3 separate regions of the Homo sapiens genome follow, and all the other regions are linked to region 3. The links are contacts of gene promoters, found by promoter capture Hi-C in blood cells and fetal thymus (Javierre and others, 2016). All regions are on one chromosome and are shown on one strand. Each heading gives the region's core, a stretch centred on a gene start or on the middle of the fragment in contact. The rest is flanking DNA. Distances are from core to core; before and after follow the strand shown. Region 1 overlaps AHI1-DT (AHI1 divergent transcript). Region 2 overlaps AHI1-DT (AHI1 divergent transcript). Region 3 holds the start of PDE7B (phosphodiesterase 7B).

Evidence for each region. Contacts are between HindIII fragments. The CHiCAGO score rates a contact against its expected background, and 5 or more counts as called.
Region 1: a fragment that was not itself captured here is called in contact with the fragment with the promoter of PDE7B in region 3 in 1 of 17 cell types (total B cells); the score reaches 5.7 in total B cells.
Region 2: a contact is called between a fragment that was not itself captured here and the fragment with the promoter of PDE7B in region 3, in 1 of 17 cell types (total B cells). The highest score is 5.2, in total B cells.

The regions. Positions count from the first base shown.
Region 1 is chr6:135,650,963-135,653,759 of GRCh38, reverse strand. The region is part of intron 3 of AHI1-DT (AHI1 divergent transcript); the gene reads right to left. Among named protein-coding and RNA genes, the nearest start is that of LINC02524, 18 kb to the right of the region's middle. The HindIII fragment of the contact is 1,410 bases long and covers 554-1,963 here.
Region 2 is chr6:135,697,828-135,700,718 of GRCh38, reverse strand. All of the region lies in intron 5 of AHI1-DT (AHI1 divergent transcript), which reads right to left. Among named protein-coding and RNA genes, the nearest start is that of LINC02524, 65 kb to the right of the region's middle. The HindIII fragment of the contact is 645 bases long and covers 964-1,608 here.
Region 3 is chr6:135,850,314-135,853,013 of GRCh38, reverse strand. It overlaps PDE7B (phosphodiesterase 7B), which reads right to left and starts at 1,313. Exons shown (of 13, transcript NM_018945.4): 1 at 995-1,313. The coding sequence starts at 1,015. RefSeq lists a silencer at 1,289-1,526. The HindIII fragment of the contact is 11,590 bases long and covers 1-2,700 here.

The DNA of each region.
Region 1 (2,797 bases), core at 9-2,508, 200 kb after region 3:
TAGAATGAGTTAGTAAATATTCCATATGCCTCTATATTTTAGAAAAGACTGTAGAGAATTGATATAATTTGTTCCTTAAGTATTTGGTAGAATTTACTAGTGAACTGATCAGGGTCTCATGGTTTCTGTTTTGGAAGGTTATTAATTATTAATTCCATTCCTTTAATAGATCTAGGCCTATCTGGATTGTCTATTTCTTCTTGTGTGAGTTTTATCAGATTTTATTTTTCAAGAAATTCATCTATTTCCCCTAGGTTATCAAATTTGTGGGCACAGAATTATTCATAGTATTCCTTTATTATCCTTCCAATGTCCATGGGCTCTGAAGTGAAATCTCCTCCTTCCAAAAGTAGTAATTTGTGCCCTTCTTTTTCCTAGCCTGGCTAGAAGCTTATCAGTTTTGTTATCTTTTCAAAGACCCAGCTTTTGGTTTCAAAAATTTTCCCTATTGATTTCCTATTTCAATTTCTTTAATTTCTACTCTAATATTTATTGTTTCTTGTGCTTACTTTGGATTAATTTGCCCTTTCTCTAGTTTTCTATGGTAAAAGCTTGCATGATTGATTTTAGATCTTTCTGCTTTCCTAATATATGCATTCAATACTACAGTAGTTTCCCCTTATCCACAGGCGCTATGTTCCAAGACTTCCAGTGGATGCCTGAAACCTTGGATAGTACCCAGCCTAAATGCTGTAAATCAGAATATGTTTCTATTTCTGTCTTCCAGCCACAAAATGTAACGCTTTTTTCATCTTAACTAGGCACTTACAGTGGCCATACTTTTGCAGCATGAGGTGTGACAACAAAACTAGCATGAATTTTTTTATCCTTCTTCACAATATCGTGGATAGAAGATTCATTTTTACCGTAGATGTTAGCAAGTTCAGCATATAATTTTTTTCTTTTCTTATTAAGTCAAGAATGTTCACCTTTTCACTTAAAGGAAGTACTTTATGGCTTCCTTCATATCTGAATTGCCAGCATTTCTACTTTTGTGCTTTGGAGCCATTAAGTAAAATAAGGGTTACTTGAACACAAGCACGGTCATATCACAATAGTCAATCTAATAACCAAGACTGCTCACGCCTGTATTCCCAACACTCCAGGAGGCTGAGGTAGGCAGATCACTTGAGGCCAGAAATTCGAGACCAGCCTGGCTCACATGGTGAAACCCCGCCTCTGCCAAAAAATACGAAAGTTAGCCAGGCATGGTGGCCTGCCTGTAATCCCAGCTACTCAGGGACGGTGGGGGGCTGGGGGGAGGGGGGCAGAGCTGAGGCAGGAGAATTACTTGAACACAGGAGGTAGAGGTTGCAGTAAGCCAAGACAGTGCCACTGCACTCCAGCCTGTGTGACAGAGTGAGACCCTGTCTCAAAAAAAAAAAAGACTGCTACTAAATGACTAATGGCCAGGTAGTGAATGTATATAAGGTGAACAAAGGAGGATTTACATCTCATAGGGGATGAAGTGGGAAGGCAAGAGATTTTATCATGCTACTCAGAACAGTATTCAATTTAAAACTTAAGAATTGTTTATTTTTGGAATTTTTCACTTAATATTTTCAGACTGTAGTTGACCACAGATAACTGAAACCACAAAAAGTAAAACTGCAAATGAGGAAGTACTACTGTGTATATTTCCCTTTACGCATTTTAAAAACTTGTGAGATGTTTGCTGCATCCCACAAGTTTTCATAAGTTGTGTTTTCATTTTCATTTAGTTCAAAGTATTTAAAATTTTATCTTGAGATTTCTTCTTTGACCTATGTGTTACTTAGAAGTATGTTGTTTAATCTCTAAGTATGTGGGGATTTTCCAACTACCTGTTTTTGATTTCTAGTTTAATTTTATTGCAGTCTGAGAGAAGACATTGATTGTATGATTCCTATTCCTTCAAATTTGTTAAGGTATGTGTTTTTTGGCCCAGAATATGTTCTATACTGGTGAATGTTCCATGTAAGCTTGGAAGAATGTGTATTCTGCTGTTGTTAGATGAAGTAGTCAATAGATATCCATTATAACCAGTTGATTGATGGTGTTGTTGAGTTCAACTCTGTTGTTACTGATCTTCTTGCCTACTGGACCTGTCCATTTCTAATAGAGGGGTGTGTTAAAATCTCCAATAATAATACTGGATTTAACTATTTCTCCTTGCACTTGTATCAGTTTTTGCTTACATATTTTGACACTCTGTTTTTATGTGCACGTATTAGACTGCTCTAACACTACTGATAAAGACAGACCTGAGACTGGGCAATTTACAGAAGAAAGAGGTTTAATGGACTTACAGTTCCACACGGCTGAGGAAGCCTCACAATCATGGTAGAAGGCAAGGAGGAGCAAGTCACATCTTACATGGATGGCAGCAGGCAAAAAGAGAAAGCTTGTGCAGGGAAACTCCCCTTATAATATCATCAGATCTTGTGAGACTTATTCACTATCACGAGAACAGCATGGGGAAGACCTGCCCCCATGATTCAATTACCTCCCACTGGGTCCCTCTCACAACATGTGGGAATTCAAGATGAGATTTGGGTGGCGACACAGAGCCAAACCATATCATTCCACCCTTGGCCCCTCCCAAATCTCATGTCCTCACATTTGAAAACCAGTAATGCCTTCCCAACAGTCCCCCAAAGTCTTAACTCACTTCAGTATTAACTCAGAAGTCCACAGTGCAATGTCTCATCTGAGACAAGGCAAGTCCCTTCTGCCTATGAGCCTGTAAAATCAAAAGCATGTTAGTTACTTTTTAGATACAATGGAGGTATAAGCATTGGGTAAATACAGCCATTCC
Region 2 (2,891 bases), core at 37-2,536, 150 kb after region 3:
GGTCAGGAATTCGAGACCAACCTGTCCAACAGGGCCAAACCCCATCTCTACTAAAAATACAAAAATTAGTTGGGCATGTGCCCATAGTCCCATCTACTCAGGAGGCTGAGGCATGAGAATTGCTTGAACCTGGGAGGCAGAGGTTGCAGTGAGCCGAAATCATACCACTACACTCCAGCCTGGGCAACAGGGTGAGACTCTGGCTCAAAAAAAATAAATAAATAATTTTAAAAAGTGAGAATCAGTGCATTCAAGGACTGGACCCTCTCCCCTAGCTTTGGAAAGTCTTTCTGACCAATCCCACCTCTTTGCATAATTCCAGCTATTACCTATGTGCCATCAGTGACCCCCCCAAACCCTGATTCCAATTTTATAAGCCCTAAAGACATGCCCCAAATGAAACTTGGCATCCTCACTCATAAACTGCCACACCCCTATTTTTCACACTTTGGCTGATAGCATTGCTATACAATCAGTCACTGAAGCTAAAAACTTTAGTAGTTCTTGACTATTTCCTGTCCTTATAATATCCAATCAGTCACCAAACCTAACCCATTCCACTTCCTAAATGTCCCATTTATTCACTTAAAAATATAACAGATATTTACGGAGCACGCACTGCATGTCCAAAATGTTGCCCTGGTTGTTCTATCTGCCCTTTGCTGTATCCCCACCGTCCCTGCCCAAATCAAGGCCTTTCCCACCACTTCCTCCAATTGGTAAAATACCATCCTAGCTTGTGTGCAAGTTTCCAGTTTCCTGACCCACCCCATGCATATTTTCCACTATCAAAAGGATCATGTTCCTAAAATACAAGTCTAATATTATAACTATTGGCTTTAAAGCATCCTGTCTCCCTTGGAGCCCATAAGATTACATCTTAGAACAACACTCAAAGTCCATTACATTTTGGTTCCACCTTTCTTTCCTGGCTGTCTGCCTCCACCCGCCTATGTTCAAGCTTCTTTAAAAGGTCACTAATCTTCAAACACACCACCCACCCACCTGCTTATTATTTTTTTTAATGTGGTCATCTCTGGTAGCAATTTCTTCTCATCTTCTTTTTGCCTCAGAATTTAAGGCAACTTCAAATATTAGCTTCACTGTAAAGGCTTCTCGGATGCTCCCAGGAAGACTGGGTCACTCTTTTCATTATGCTTTCAGAATGAATTGGGTATCACTATATCATTTATTACTGAGGGACTGAATATACAAACTGACATGAACTAATCCATGTATAAAAATAGAACTTTGACCATCAACCTCCAGAATCTTGTCCAGAAAGCCAATCTGTTAACTTCAATAAATAGTCCAGGAAGCCAGCCTGCTATAAGTCAGGCTGCTATCTGTAGAAACAATATAGGAAGCTAAGCAAAAACTTCTGTAACAATCGGCTCAAAATGGCCAGGACTTGATTCATAACTGACAGCTTTCCCAATATCTGTCCCCACTCCAAACTTAGGACAAACCAGAGAAAGCCAAATATGCACCCCTAAGCAATCACAGAGGATGTTCTGCTTCTGGTTAGCCTACCTCCAACTTCCCCAAGACAACAGCCTCCAGTCAGGGTATGATTGAAGCCTTCCCTTTATTTCTCACTATGAAGCTTCCCACTCCTCTGCTTGCCTTTGATTCTCTCCCAAAACACAAGTGACAGTGGCAGACTCCCCTTGCTATAGCAAACACTGAATAAATAATCCTTGCTTTTCTTCTTTAGTTGGTTTTGGTTTCTTTCCACTGTCTTTAACCAGGACCTGCCACATAAAATTGGTTAATGAATGATGTGTTTTTGTTATTGTTATAGTGGCTTTTGTTGGATGGCTACTTACTGCTACCACAGGATGCTTTTCCCAACAATCCAACTTTGTCATTATAAATTTGTTACTAATATTCCCTTATTATCTGGGTAAAATCTATAGGATAGTTAATGATGTCCCCTCTTTAATTCTTGACTGATAATTTTTTGTCTTCCCTTTTTTTCCTGTATCAGTTTTGCTAGATATTTACCAATATTACTGATGTTGTCAAAAACCCAGCTTGGGGTTTCATAAATTTTCTCAGTTTGTCTTGGGTTTTCTATTTTTGTTATCATTTTTATTCTCTTCCTTCTGCTTACTTTGGTTTAACTTTTCTTCTCTTTTCCAGCCTCTTGTGGTGGGAATTTAGACTCTAATAAATTTAGATCATTGATTGTTGATACTACTTCTTTTCTAATATAAGTATTTAGTTAGATGGTTTTGAGACTTGCTTTTAAGTTGTGCTTGGGCAGGGCTAGAGAAACCTTTCCTCTAGGAATGGGTTAGCCCACTACTGCAGAGTAGTCCTTCTGGATGGAGTCTTTACTGCATTCTCCAAGTAAAGAGGCTCAATGAGGGCTCTCCATGCTATCTGGTGGTAATGCAAATGATTCCGCAGTCTGTGTGTATTGTGGAAATACGCTCCTCTCATAACTCCACAGTTGTTCTTTGCCCAGCCTTGTAGCATTTCACGCTGTGCATTGTCTTGATATTTTTCAGACTCATGGGACCCACTGTGTATATTTCTCAAGCCCGTTTTCTGTGTAGCTCCCTACTCTGTAGATCTCTGCCTCACCATTTACAGACACCAGACTTCCTAAACTTCAAGTTCTGCCTCCTCAATTATATAAGACAACTTTTCCTTGCTTGGAATCTCCCTCTCTGCTCTGCAGTCTAAAATGTGCCTCCAGGCGAAAATCCTAGGCAATTGCAGTGCAGGGCTCACCTCACTTACTTCTCTTCCCCCGAGATTCACAGTCCTTCTTGTGCTGCCTATTGTCCAATGTCTGAGGAGAAGTCTTCTTCATGTAATGTTAGAGTTGATCAAGACATGAGGGTAAATCCAGGCCCTTTAACTCCATGGCTGCAAGCCCT
Region 3 (2,700 bases), core at 64-2,563:
TCCTCCTTAAGACATAATAATGTGCCACTGAAAACAACATTAGCCCTGTATTGAATTGCCAATCTTCCTGCAGCATTTAGTGTGTTTACTGTATATGAATGCCTATGCCTGTCTCTGGTGCAAAGAGGTTTACTCTTATTGCAATAGTCACTCTGGCTAGAGCACATGAAGAACAGAATTTTTAAATGATTAATTAGTCCCCAGGCTCAATCACTTAAGCCCCTAATTGAATATCTGACTCCATTTTCAACTATTGTAGGAAAAGATAATTAGCAAATTTGCAGTGGTAATAAAGAAGTTTTACTTTCCTTTATAAATAATAATATCTAAATTTCTGGTCATGTAACTTAGTACTTGCATCTCTCCTGGACTTCTGAATCCAAAACATTTTTTGAAAAATGCAACAAGGTGATGAAGGATTTTTCTTCAGAGCTCATTTTTTGGACATCTTCTATTGATTTTTTTCTACCTTCAGTCTCACTATCAGCTTCTTCCCTTCTTGCCACTAATTTCTTCATCTTGAAGTCTGCTATCAACCAACATGAAAAACTCAAGAAAAAAACTAATTTCCTTCTTCCCTGTTCCACAAACCTTACCAATCCCTTTACCAGCATTTTCCTATCCTGTCCCACCAAAAATGAAAATTACCCAACTCCAAGATTTATGTTGGAGAAAAAAAATATTGCATTCTTTATTTTTTTTTTTAAAGACCACCTCAGTGTGGGCTCAAAGTGCAGTGAAAATGCCGGAGTCTCATTACACTGGTTGGAATGAAACCCTGCTGCCCTTAAACGGTTAATTCAGGGTAAGTGATAATGTTTAGTCAGTTCGCCTAGAAAAAGGAAGGAAATTCAAAAGCTGGTTGCTGTAGTAACAATCACAGACAAAAAACATATATATGTACAGGTTCATTTTAAATAAAAATCCTGCCATCTCTCTGTGACTCTATTCTCTCAAGAAAACTGAGCTTGCCGCTTAAATTTGTTGTACATACCTCAACCATTAAACAAGACATTTAACCATAGTGGCAGTTCTGTGACCTTTGAATGCCGTGAAATCTCTGAGCGGTGCTGCTTGTTCATGAAGACTTGTGCTGCAGAATCCAGCAACTTCATCCAGGATTAGGAATATAATTAAGTAACAAAAAAAAAAAAAGAAAAAAAAGGAAAAGAAATAAAGAAACACAAAAGCACACAAGGAGATCGAGAAAGAAGGAAGGTAGAAAGAGAGACTCTCCCTGGGTGAGTAACACCACTTTTCTCCCAGACAAGTGCTGGGACAGAGCCGAGCCTGCTGCAGTGCCCAGACCAACTGACTGGCTGGGTGAGCAGCCGCCGGCCTGCTAGGCTGGGAGGTGCTGTCAGTTGCCACAGGCAAGGAAAAGCAGAGACCAATCGGCTTCAACTCTGGCAGCTTACTGGAGTGGAGCCTTTTCTGTTTATGTTTCCTCATTTCAAGAGTGACGTCAAAGGGTTTAGTTTTTCCTCTGCATGTGCTATTAATTTTAAAGTACTGTACTATGGGAAGAATGTGTGTGTGCCTGTGGTCAGCCTGGGCACCCCACTCTCAGGAGAGCCCAAGAAACATTTTCTATATTCGGGAATACATTTAAAGAATTTAAAATACCTTGTGGTGAGGTGTATAAAAACAAAAGCAAAACAAAACAAAAATTAAATATAAAACCCTGAGCTAAATCATAGCAGCAAGATGTAGATTTTTTCCATCTGTGAGTGTATGTGCTCCATGCTCACTTGGCAGCTGTTGCTTATTTTTTTTTACCTAATTCATTTTTACTCTTACCTAAAAATGAGTTGTTAATTAAACTTGATAGCCATAGAGGCAGAATCGTACAAATGCACTGGTGAACAAAATGATGTGCAATGAAACATAGAACTCCTGTGTCAGTTTGTGCCATGGGTCCCTGCGTTTCCTCCAGCTTCCGTGGTGAAGCCTCAGGCTTGTTCCTGCCAGGGAGATGCCTCCTGATGCCAGCAGGAGTCATTCAAGAAGCAAGGCTATGGTGATGCCATGCAGGTGTGCCTGGGGCCTCAGCTTGTTCTTTCCCAAAGAGTATGAAGGTCCAGTTATTTAGGGATACTTCCTTTACCAGGGACCCCAGCTTATCCCTGGGTTACACTTCCCACTCTGGAAAAATCCCCATAGTTGCCATCTGTTGTTTCTGCCTCCCCCACATCCTCCTCCTTTTCCCCATCCCCATCCTAAATTCTGCTAACAGACCTTTTTTGGGTGGGCGGTGGGCGGAACTTTCCTTCCTCTATCTTCTATGGATTGCATGGACTTTGCCCCCAGCCCCATTCCCACGACAGAGCCACAAGGGGGCATGGGACCCACAGGGGCCAATCAGATTTCTCCATTGCTCCGAGGCAGACTATGTTTTAGGGGTGGGCGCAACACTAAAGAATGTCCACATTCCTTTTTCAAATACTAATATTGTTTCTTTGAGAAAGAAAGTATTTATGTATCCCTAAGAGCCTAGGCGCTAGGATTAAGCATCCCTGTAGTTGTTGGGGTTTATCTTTGGTGTTGAAGCTACAATAGTGAACAAAACAGATGGTTCTTTGCCCCCATGGAGTCTACATTTTGGAGAAGCAGGGAAATTGTCAAAGAAAAATAAGTAAACGTATAATGTCAGTTGGCAATGAGGGCTTCAAAATAAGGTAAGGAGAATGAGGTGTGTGT